Regions from separate parts of the Homo sapiens genome. Here all the other regions are linked to region 2. The links are contacts of gene promoters, found by promoter capture Hi-C in blood cells and fetal thymus (Javierre and others, 2016). All regions are on one chromosome and are shown on one strand. The core of a region is centred on a gene start or on the middle of the fragment in contact, and the rest is flanking DNA. Distances in the headings are between cores, read along the strand shown. Region 1 overlaps BSN (bassoon presynaptic cytomatrix protein). Region 2 holds the start of RBM6 (RNA binding motif protein 6). Region 3 overlaps DAG1 (dystroglycan 1).

Region 1 (4,005 bases), core at 937-3,436, 370 kb after region 2:
TTTCCGCTGTGAACTCAGAGCCTGCGCAGACTCTGATACACAGCAGGGGCTAAATGCTTGTTGAATGAATGGACAAAGAAACAATATTCTCAAAATGATATGTGCTCTGGGGAGCAAAGCCTTCTCTGAGGATAAAGCAGGGTCTCTGGAAAAGCTAATTTATTGGGGTATGGGGAGTTGGTGTTGCTACCTCTATCCCTTATGCCTAAACCCACCCCCACTGCATGCCATCGAATAATAATCAGTACACGTTACCAGAATCACTTACATGGTGTGGGTCTTACTCCTGATGGCTGTGTGCTCCATATGCATCTAGAACATGTCGGCTTGTTTACAGAGTTATCCCCCATGTCCATGGCAGTTGGAGGAAGAAAGGGATGAACAATCTCTGTCCTCATTCCCTACTATACCCTGAGGCCTCTGGGGCCTGGCTCAGAGTGAGTGCACTACCAAAGTGGGCTGTTCCAAGTAGTCTCACTGTGGCAGAGGCTTTGCCACCAAACTCCATCCTATGAGTCCTGGGCTCTTCTGGCCCTGGAGCCTTATACCCCAAAGCTACTTGAAGCTGCCCACCCCCGTCTCCCCAACCCCAGTCTACTCTACCCAGAGGCCTGTGCCCTGCAACAGGGGCAGGAAGTATGCCATTCTTACCCACTGGATGCCCTGACCCTTCACTGGACACATGAAAGCTTTCTTATTCCAAAGTAGCCAGGGAGATTCACCAAGCAGAGGCTGGAGCTAGGAAACCCAGGCTCCTCTTCCCTGTCCTGCCCCTGACTTGCTGTGGGATGCTTGGAAATGCCCACTACCTCTCTGGAATTAGTATTTCCATCCCACCAGTGCTCTTAACTCTCTATTGGCCAGAGCTACACAGAATTAAAAAAAAAGCACAGTGTATTTTTAAAATTCCTCAGTTACTACTAAGTACTGTTACTATCTTTTCAAAAGCAATGCCTGTCGCTATCTGAACTTCTTGTTTTTTCCTGAGCCACTAGTAGGGACTAAGGAAAAGGAAGCTGAAGGAGTGTGACTGAGGCCCACATTCCCTGCCAAACTTTGCTGGAAGGCTCAGCTCTGGTACTCCTGGGGTCACTTCCACTCCATTTCACAGGCCTGGGAGCCCCAGAGTCAGTGTTCATGTGGGACTGCAGGTAGCACAGGATGCTTTCCAAAAAGGCAAAACTTCTAGTTTCCTCTTTCTTCTTGCCTCTGAAAACAAGTTATTTGCACTACCAGGCAGGCTCAGAGGAGTGAGCCTGGAAGGGGAGGTATTGCCTTGGCATTGGAAGGGAAGGTGTTGCCCCCAAGAGTCCCCACCAGGCTCTCTGGCTAATTTGAATACAGGGAGAACATGTTTGCTTTCCTCACTCAACACTCAGGGGTGTAGAGGTTTTTCTTTGTTTCTTACTATCTAGAAAAGGAGGTGATTGTGTAGCTCTGGCGTCTGCCCCTGGAACTTTGGATGGTCTTCCCAGGGCTCCTCACCCCCAACTGGGGGCCTGAGTAGGGACAGCACAGAGGCTGGTGCCTGCTGCTCTTCAGTCTCTGTTTCCACGGCTCAAACCAAAGTAAACAACAGAATGGCCATGTAGGTGCAAAGTACCAATGACAGCATGGACCCTTGGGTGGGCTCCAACACTCACCCTAATAAAGCTGGGGAGGAAGGGGCGGAGTGGAGGCAGGCAAAGTGGCAAACCGGGTCTGTTGGGAGCACCAGATCAAGCCTCCCTGTTCTGTCTGCTCCCTTCCTCCCTTTCTTCCACTGGCTTAGCCTGCATCATAGCTCCCCAAAAGTGCCCTGGCAGGAAACCCCCTTCTGACTCTGCTCTATGGGTGGTGTATCTTAGGCTGCCAGGCAATCAGTGCTAAGTACCATCATTTGCAAAAAGTGCTTTCAGCACAGGAGGGGAGCAGAGATGAGTGCTTGGCCATTGGGAAAGTCCTATTCCAGTCTGTTGGCTTCCGAGCCAGCTTCGTGTGCTACAGCCTGCATCCTGATCCCTAAGTCCAGAGAAATATACATCCCAAAGTCAAATTATGATATCTCTGCTCAGCTGCCCAACAGCAAATCACAACCCCAGAGCAGCAGCCCCAGACCTGGAACTCCCTCCCTCCTGCCCTCTTCCCAATACTCAAAATCTGTCAAGGGGCGCCTGTCCCACACGACTGTCACTCCAGCTGAAGGCCAACACCCTCCACCTGGCTTCATGAAGTTTACTGAACAGGAGTGAGGGCTAAAGAGTCAAAGTGACACTTTTCCTATAGTGAGAGACTTTTCTCTGTGGCTCTGGTGGCCTGAGCTTCATCTCTGACTAGCTGCAGATTCTAGAGCCAATAGAATGAGCCAGGCCTTTCAAGTGAACTGCCCAGTCTGAGCCTTAAATTCTATAATCTGTTTTAGCAGCTGTCTGTGAAGATGAGGATGGACGACAGTAGGCCCCTGAGCCCTCCAAGCGTCCCCCACTGAGTCAGAGCTCCCAGAGGTCAGGAACTATACCCTCAATCAAGTTTAACTCAAACATGATCTAGGGTAATAAATAAGGGCATAATCTACCTGTTCATCTTTCTATCCTCAGCCCTGGGCATGGAACCTGACATCAACTAGTAGGCACTTAATGGCAGGCCTCATGCTGAGTGCTTTCATTTCCAATGTTTCATTTGATAAGGTAAATATTTGTTTAATTGAATGCACTTGATTCACTCTCTTGGAACCCTAGTATTGCCTCAATTTCCTCCTCTCCCTTATCTCTTTTTCAGGGTACTTGTAGGAACCAGGTGGCATTAATATTAAAGCACTTGCAGGTGAAGTGCTACTTTATTTTTCCAACCCAGACTTGAATACCCAGCTGCCTACCTAACATCTCACTTGGGTGCCTCTAAAAAACAACTTGTCCAAGAACAAACTCCTGGTCTAGGCCCATTCCTCCTCCTCCCTGTGTACACCAGATGCCCAGGCCAAAACTCAGAGCTCCTCCTGACTCCTCTCTTCAACTCTTCACAGCCAACCATTCAGCAATCCTTCTGGCTCAATTTCCAGAATATATTCAGAAGTTGAGCACTTTTCATCACTCTTACTACTCAGCCCCTTCCCACCTCCCTGTCCTGCAAAACCCCGCACCCCACCATGATCATCCTCTCATGCCTGAATATTATTGCTTCTGCCTTTGGCTCTCAGTCTTAGCAACACAGAGAAAAACAACTTATACATTTACCATTTTGCTTCAGCAATCCTACTTCTAGGAAACTATCGCACAGACACACTGGTAAAATTACAAAATGCCACATTTTCCAGATTCCTCACTGTGCTTCTTTTTGTAAGAGCAAAAGACTGGACACAGCCCAATGTCCATAGATAAACCATGGCATATCCACATGGTGAGGCACAGTGCAGATGCAAAAAGGAATCAGGAGGATTTCTATATTCTGCTACAGGGTGATCTTCAAGATTGATTACATGGAAAAAAGCAAAGTACAGAAGAGTACTTAGAGTCTGCTACCTTTTACATAAAAAAGAAAGGTAAACAAATATATTTTTCCCTTAAATTTGCAAAAAGAAACAGTGGGAAAAATCTGATAAAAACTGTTTCTTATCAGAAAGGCAAAGAGAATAAAGTAGAGGGAACAAGATGGAATTAGACTTCTCTCAATATATCTTGTTTTATTTGGAATCATAGGAAAGCTTTATATAATTTTTAAAAATTAAATTTTAAAAAAGTACGGTATATGCCATTGTTGTTTTCAATTCTTTACTTTCCATCGATTTCTGTTCTCTGCCATGTGTCTTTGCAGTTCCTCCAACTAGAGGCAGAATATATTTTTTCCAGCTGTGGCAGACTGTATTTTCCAAAAATGGTCTCAGCAAGATTTCCAGTCCCACATGTACTGACAGAGTCCACGTCCCCTCCTTTTAAACCTAGGCAGGATCTTGTGACTGTGTTAGTAAACAGAATGTGGCAGAAGTGACACTGCATGTCTCTTAAGACTAAATCATAAAAGTCAGTACGG
Region 2 (3,944 bases), core at 1,416-3,915:
ACCTCAGCTCACTGCAACCTCTGCCTCCTTAGTAGCTGGTGTTACAGATGCATGCCACCATGCATGGCTAATTTTTGTATTTTTAGTAGATACGGGGTTTCACCATGTTGGCCAGGCTGTTCTTGAACTCCTGAACTCAAGTGATCTGCCCACGTTGACCTCCCAAAGTGCTGGGATTACAGGCGTGAGCCACCATGCCCTCCCTGGTTACAGAGTTTCTGTTTGAGATACTAAAGTTTCAGAAATAGTGGTATTGCTTGTACTACATTGTGAATGTAATTAATACCATTGAATTGTATACTTTTTTTTTTTTTTTTTGAGATGGAGTCTCGGAGTCTCGCTCTGTTGCCCAGGCTGGAGTGCAGTGGCGCAATCTCGGCTCACTGCAAGCTCCGCCTCTCGGGTTCACACCATTCTCCTGCCTCAGCCTCCTGAGTACCTGGGACTACAGGCGCCCACCACCACGCACGGCTCATTTTTTGTATTTTTAGTAGAGATGGGGTTTCACCGTGTTAGCCAGGATGGTCTCGATCTCCTGACCTCGTGATCCGCCCACCTCGGCGTCCCAAAGTGCTGGGATTACAGGCGTGAGCCACCGTGCCTGGCTGAATTGTATACTTAACAATGGTTTAAAGAGCAAATTTTGTTAAAATATACATAAACATACATAAAAATATATATTTACCACAATTTATTTAATTGATTTTTTTTTTTTTGAGACAGTCTTGTTCTGTGGCCCAGGTTGGAGTGCAGTGGCACTATCTCCCCTTACTACAACCTCTACCTCCCCGGCTCAAGCGATTTTTCCATCTCAGCCTCCTGAGTAGTTAGGGCTAACAGGAGCATGCCACCACGCCTGGCTAATTTTTTTTTTTTGTATTTTTTGTAGAGACAGGGTTTTGCGATGTTGCCCAGGCTCACAATTTGTTTTAGAAATACTATAACAGGGCCGGGCACGGTGGCTCACGCCTGTAATCCCAGCACTTTGGGAGGCCAAGGCAGGTGGATCACCTGAGGTCAGTAGTTCAAGACCAGCCTGGCCAACATAGCGAAACTCCGCCTCTACTAAAAAAATACAAAAAATTAGCTGGGCATAAGGCGAAACGCTGCCTCTACTATGTTGGTTTTTGTTGAGTTTTGCGGGTTTTTTTTTTTTTTTTTTTTTTTTTTTTTTGAGACAGAGTTTCACTCTTGTGGCCCAGGCTGGAGTGCAATGGAGCAATCTCAGCTCACCGCAACCTCCGCCTCCCAGGTTCAAGCGATTCTCCTGCCTCAGCCTCCCAAGTAGCTGGGATTACAGGCATGTGCCACCATGCCCGGCTAATTTTGTACTTTTAGTAGAGACGCGGTTTCTCCATGTTAGTCAGGCTGGTCTCGAACTCCCCACCTCAGCCTCCCAAAGTGCTGGGATTACAGGTGTGAGCCACCAGGCTCGGCCTGGTAATAGAATTCTATAAGGAAAGGTGCTACAACTATCCAGAGAGACCTGGGACCTGTCCTGCAGGTTAGGTATCTAGTTAGATGCTAGTTTCTGAGACAAGGTTCAAATTCAACTTTTGTGTTTCACCAAAATGGTAACATATTATTTAGTTACTTTCTTCACTGCCAGTCCTACCATCACGCACCAGCTCTTGACACCTCTCGTTAGAGACCTCACAAATTCAGTAATGGTGACATATTTAAATCATTCACGCTGGTGGCATTTCTCAATAGGAAGGTGGAAACTAGCAAGCCGAGGGCACAATCCAGGGTTCAGAAAATGAACCAGGTGACCATGTCTGCATGTCTACTGAACTCCTTCACTTAAATCCGGCTACTCTGACCTTCACAAGCAAACCTGGAATATGCAAAAAATACAATTACGCTCACGGTTTATGTACCCTACGAAACAGGGCCCTTCCTTCAAAAAAAAAAAAAAAAAAAAGGCATTCCCAAAGTTGAACCCATTCGCCTAACGTCAATTCTAAAATAAAGAGAAAAACATCTATTTACACCGCTAATGGAATCTAAAGCGTGAATACGATAAAACATCCTTCTCCTTCATTGCCTAACGGGCGCAGAACCCACCAGACCACTCTCCCGCTTCCAGGTTCTACCGCCCCGACGACCGGGCTCGGAGCTCTTGTGCCCTCCGGTCCAGCGGAGCCTCCCTTGTGTCTGTCCAAGTCTGAGGACGAGGCTACGTGCTAAGCACAAGAGCTCCCTTCCTAGTGATGCCACAGAATTGGATCTGAAACAGGAAAACCGCAAGAACAGCCCGCTTACAGCTCCGAAGAGTAGGAGCACAGAGCCGCAACCACGCGCCGGCCCCAGCCTCACAGCTGGCCGCTCCGCGGCGGGACCGGTAATCTACTGCCGCGCCGGGCCCCGCCCCAGGCCCGCGACGGTTCCGGGGCGTTCCTGCCACGGGCGGCGCCTCCCTCATCTCACCGTTGCTTGGTCTTCTTCCCGAGCGAGGCCGCAGCCGCCCCGCGACACTGAAGCCACAGCTTTCAGGCTGCGCGGGCCTGCGATGTCTAGAGCGGGCCTGTCTGCTGGCTATTCCCTGGCAGGCTCTGGCACGCCTCCCCTCCAGTCCCGGGCCCTTACCTAGGCGGCGAAGCCTCCACGGCCCGCTCCTCCTTCTCCTCAGCCTCCGCCACCGACCCAGCGCCGCGGACACCGGAACTTCCTCCGCGCGGGGCCACTGCTACCACAAAGGCGCCGCGCCGCTGCCTTCAGCGCTCGGCCCGCTGGGAGATGAAGTACAGCTGCCGGTCCCGCAGACTCTTACTCCCGCCGTGCCCCGCGCGCAGGGGACTTGCCTTCTGGGGTGGGTCGTAAGAGCACGCTGTCCATCGCCATCCAATAAGAAGGCGCGCTTACCCGCCCTACTCCGCGTGACCTGCTGGGAGTTGTGGTTTGGCCTCTGCCCTGTGACACCTGGTCCTCTTGTGCTTTCCTCTCAGTTGATTGAGGCTTACAGTTTTTTGGTGGCTTGACTTTCCTGAGGTTTGCTCCCTGCCAGCAGCTCGGGTACGGCCCTGGCCTGCCTAGCTCGAGGCCTCCTTATTGTCCGTTAGTGTGAGAGAAATGGAAGGGAGCTTCTTCGGGAGTAAGTTTAAGCCATCTCCAGCTGGTTGGCGGGGCGCGGTGGCTCACGCCTGTAATCCCAGCACTTTGGTAGGCCGCGGCGAGTGGACCACCTGAGGTCAGGAGTTCTAGACCAGCCTGGCCAACATGGTGAAACCCCATCTCTACCAAAAATACAAAAATTACCCGGGCTTGGTGGCAGGTGCCTGTAATCCCAGCTACTCGGGAGGCTGAGGCAGGAGAATCACTTAAACCCGGGAGGCAGAGGCAGAGGTTGCAGTGAGCCGACACTGTGCCACTGCACTCCAGCCTGGACAATAGAGCAAGACTCCACCTCAGAAAAAAAGAAAGAAAGAAAAAGGCCGGGCGCAGTGGCTCATGCTTGTAATCCTAGCACTTTGGGAGGCCGAGGTGGGTGGATCACGAGGTCAGGAGTTCAAGACCAGCCTGGCCAAGATAGTGAAACCCCATCGCTACTAAAAATACAAAAAGTAGCCAGGCGTGGTGGCGCATGCCTGTAATCCCAGCTACTCAGGAGGCTGAGGCAGAGAATTGCTTGAACCCGGGAAGCACAGGTTGCAGTGAGCCGAGATCGCGCCACTGCACTGTTGCCTGGCAACAGCGCAAGACTCCGTCTCAAAAGAAAGAAAGAAAGAAAGAAGTTGGGCGCAGTGGCTCACGACTGTAATCCCAGCACTGTGGGAGGCCGAGGCGGGTGGATCACGAGGTCAGGAGATCAAGACCATCCTGGCTAACACGATGAAACCCTGTCTCTACTAAAAACACAAAAAATTAGTGGAGCGTGGTGGCGGGCACCTGTAGTCCCAGCTACTCAGGAGGCTGAGGCAGGAGAATGACGTGAACCCGGGAGG
Region 3 (3,905 bases), core at 1,176-3,675, 430 kb after region 2:
AGGGGAGGTCCACCCAGATTCAGGGAAAAGGGCACAGACTCACCTCTGCAAGGAAAGAGTGGCATAGAACTTGTGGCCATTTCTAATCTAGAAGCCTGGGGCTTACGGGTCACGGGGGCAAGCTGGTAAACACCCATCAGAGTCTATATGTGCTTTGACCAATGGAGTAAAATGGAAGTGTTGTTGGGCAAGTTCTGGGCCTTAAGAGATTGGGCAGCTTCCTTTCCTATTTCTTGAAATACCTAATCTTAAAATCCATCTATCGTGCTTTGAGGACACCTAAGCAGCCCATGGAGAGGTCTACATGAAGAGGAATCAAGGACACTGACCAACAGCCCCAGCTAAGCTCCCTGTCAACAGGCAGCATCAACTTGCCAGCCATGAATGAGCCAACTTAGAAGTGAATTCCCCAGCCCCAGGTGAGCCACTCTACCTAGTACCATGTGAAACAGAGATAAGGTTCCTTATCTCTGAATTCCTGGCCAAAAAATGTTGAGTAAAACAAGCTGGTTGAGTTAAACCACTGTTTTGGTGGTTTAAACACACCAACAGAAAGCCAGAGCACTAAATGTATGTAGAAGTCTGAATGCAGAGATCATACAGAAAATACCTAACAAAGTATAGGTCTCAGAATACTTTTAGTTCACATGTAGGCCACACCTCTAGAGAAGGAATGCTGTAGGGCAGGAACCAGAAGTTTGAGACCAGCCTGGCAGACAGAGTAAGACCCTATCTAAAAAAAATTTTTTGTAACTAATTTTTGTATTTTTTGTAGAGTTGGGGTTTCACCATGTTGCCCAGGCTGGTCTCAAACTCCTGGGCTCAAGCAATCTGCCTCCCTCAGCCTCCCAAAGTGCTAGGATTACAGGTGTAAGTCATCACGCCCAAACTAAAAAAAAATTTTTTTTTAATTAGCTGGGTGTTGCGAGGCTGAGGCAGACAGATCACCCGAGATAAGGAGTTTGAGACCAGCCTGGCCAACATGGTGAAACCCCGTCAGTACTAAAAATACAAAAATTAGCCGGGCATGGTGGTGCGCACCTGTAATCCCAGCTACTTGGGAGGCTGAGGCAGGAGAATCACTTGAATCTGGGAGATGGAGGTTGCAGTGAGCTGAGATTGTGTCATTGCATTCCAGCTTGGGTGACAGAGAGAGACTTCATCTCAAAATTAATTAATTAATTAAAATAAATTAAAATTTAAAAATTAGCTGGGCGTGGTGACGTGCGCCTGTAATCCTAGCTACTGAGGAGGCTGAGGCAGGAGAATCACTTGAACCCAGGAGGCGGAGGTTGCAGTGAGCCAAGATTGTGCCATTGCACTCCAGCCTGGGCGACAAGAGCGAAACTCTGTCTCAAAAATAAATAAATAAATAAATTAGCTGGGTGTGGTGGTGCACACCTGTAGTCCCAGCTACTTGGGAGGCTGAAGAGGGAAGAAGGCTTAAGCCTGGGAGGTTAAGGCTGCAGAGAGCCATGGCTGTACCACTGCACTCCAGCCTGAACAACAGAGCAAGACCCTGCCTCAAAAAAAAAAATTGTAAAAGAATATTTCTTTCTTGACATATGAAATTCAAAAATCTGTTTCAAGTCAGAATGGGACTATAAGTGTAAAAAATTAAAAAAGAAAAAGTATCCACCGTAAAGTTTTATTGCCCATTGATTTATATATTGTAAAGGCTACTTTAACACTACACAGGCAGAGTCGAGGAGTTCTGACAGAAACCATATGGCCTGCAAAGCCTAAAATATTTACTGCCTGGAGCTTGGTGCAGTGGTGCATGCCTGCAATCCCAGCACTTTGGGAGGCCAAGGCAGGAAGATGGCTTGAGCTCAGGAGTTCAAGACTAGCTTGAGCAACATGACAAAACCCTATCTCTACAAAAAGTACAAAAATTAGCCAGGTGTGCTGATATGTGCTTATAGTCCCAGCTACTTGGGAGGCTGAGGTGGGAGGATCACTTGAGCCTGGGAGGTCAAGGCTACAGTGAGACATGATCATGCCAGTGCACTCCAGCTTGGGTGAAGTGTGCTGACTTCTGCTCTAGAAGATGTTCATAACTTGAGGGGTACATCCCACCCACCTGTCCATGAAACAAACTCATTTAAGATCTAGGGGAAATTCCATGGTTCCACAAACTCAGACAGAGAGATGGTGCTTCATCACACAAAAGCTTCCTATTTCACCTGATTTCTATCCTGGGTCAACCAAGACACTCTTCTCTACACGGGCCTCAGATTCCATTGTTCTCTGGATGGCTTCTCCAAAGGATATGGGGCAAGGCTGAAGTTTGGGTACTAATTTTGGTTCTTAAGTGATCAATTACATTAGCCAACATACATCAGCAAATCAGAGCAGAACTCCTATATTTATTTATATCTTATTTTAAAAAGTAAGTTCAAAGCATAAAAGTCCTATTTTTTGGGGTTTAACTCTGTGTTTTATTAAAGGTAACCTTTCCCTATACACGTGACAGACCTTTCCAACAAATCCCTAAATCAGTGTTCAGTAGAACTTCCAGAGTAAAGGCTATTACATGGTGATGCCCTCAGAATAGGAACAAGAATACAGTTTAGGATGCTATTCTGAGTATATAGGGATTCTCTTATGAACATCAGTGGCTGTCCCTCTTCTAAGGGGGTACTGGAAGAACTGAGCTCAGAATTGGTGAAGCTTAGACTTGAAAAGGAAAAGCCACCAAAACTAAAATGGAAAATGAGAACTCTTCCTCATTTATGCTTTATATCCAGTCTCACCTTGATGATATCTCCACTGGAGGCAATCAAATCTGTTGGAATGGTCACTCGAAATGAGCGCCCGACGACAGCCGTGCCATCAGGAATGCCAACCACTGTGGGAACAGCCTCGTGGAGGTCTGAGAGCACTGAGTGCATGGATGCCTCAAGCTGGTTTTCCCAGTCCCTGACAGCCTCTGAGGGTTCACTGGGCCAGTGGGACTGAGCCATAACCACAGAGAGCAGGAGGAGAAAGGTCCTCCCCGAGAGGGGCAGCAGCAGCGAGAGGCCCACAGACATCCTCATCCCAGGTCCAAGTTTGCTCAAGTCGATAGTCTTGCTAAGTAAGGAAGCAAGTGACTTGGTCCCAGAGCTGGGTTCTCACCCTCTGCACACCTGCTCCATCCCGGAGCACACAGAGCCTGAAAAAAAAAGAAAAGCAGGTTTAGACTTGAGCAATTCCAGTGGTTCAGTCACATACTATCCTCCAGGAGTTACTGTCAAAAACATCTACCCCGAGTTGGATCAAGCCTCTTACCCCCATGGTCTCTTATACAGAAACCAACAGTTTCGTGCAACTCCTTAGCACTGGAAATGTAGCTGATCCATTAAATATAAAATATACACTGGATTTTGAAAACTTCATAAAAAATGAATGTAAAATGCCTCATTAATACTTTTAAAATATTGATTGCAAACTGAAATGATATGTATTAGTAATATTTTGAATACAGTCAGATACATTCAATAAAATATATTAAGTAAACAATAAGTATTAACAAAGAATAAATAATAAAGAAATGTATTAAACAAGACGGGCACCGTGGCTCACGCCTATGATCCTGGCATCTTGGGAGACTAGGGTGGGTGGATGACTTGAGGTAAGGAGTTTGAAACCAGCCTGGCCAACATGGTAAAATCCCATCTCTACTAAAAATATGAAAATTAGCCGGGCATGGTGGTGGGTGCCTGTAATCCCAGCTACTGAGGAAGCTGAGGCAAGAGAATCACTTGAACCCGGGAGGTGGAGGTTGCAGTGAGCCGAGATTGCACCACTGCACTCCAGCCTGGGTGACAGAGTGAGACTCGACCTCAAAAAAAAACAATAAAATATTAAGTAAAATATATGATTGAAATTAATTTAATCTGCTTTTCTTCATGTGGCTACCA

Evidence for each region. Contacts are between HindIII fragments. The CHiCAGO score rates a contact against its expected background, and 5 or more counts as called.
Region 1: a contact is called between a fragment that was not itself captured here and the fragment with the promoter of RBM6 in region 2, in 2 of 17 cell types (M2 macrophages and M1 macrophages). The highest score is 5.2, in M2 macrophages.
Region 3: a contact is called between a fragment that was not itself captured here and the fragment with the promoter of RBM6 in region 2, in 1 of 17 cell types (erythroblasts). The highest score is 6.0, in erythroblasts.

What each region holds. Positions count from the first base shown.
Region 1 is chr3:49,568,045-49,572,049 of GRCh38, reverse strand. The region is part of intron 1 of BSN (bassoon presynaptic cytomatrix protein); the gene reads right to left. Among named protein-coding and RNA genes, the nearest start is that of BSN, 16 kb to the right of the region's middle. The HindIII fragment of the contact is 2,990 bases long and covers 692-3,681 here.
Region 2 is chr3:49,938,871-49,942,814 of GRCh38, reverse strand. RBM6 (RNA binding motif protein 6) reads right to left here and starts at 2,665. Exons shown (of 21, transcript NM_005777.3): 1 at 2,590-2,665. RefSeq lists a silencer at 2,235-2,434 and enhancers at 1,991-2,512, 2,575-2,634, 2,665-2,714, 2,745-2,804, 2,513-3,035. The HindIII fragment of the contact is 18,872 bases long and covers 1-3,944 here.
Region 3 is chr3:49,509,671-49,513,575 of GRCh38, reverse strand. DAG1 (dystroglycan 1) reads right to left here. Exons shown (of 3, transcript NM_004393.6): 2 at 2,757-3,157. The coding sequence starts at 3,041. Among named protein-coding and RNA genes, the nearest start is that of DAG1, 41 kb to the right of the region's middle. The HindIII fragment of the contact is 500 bases long and covers 2,176-2,675 here.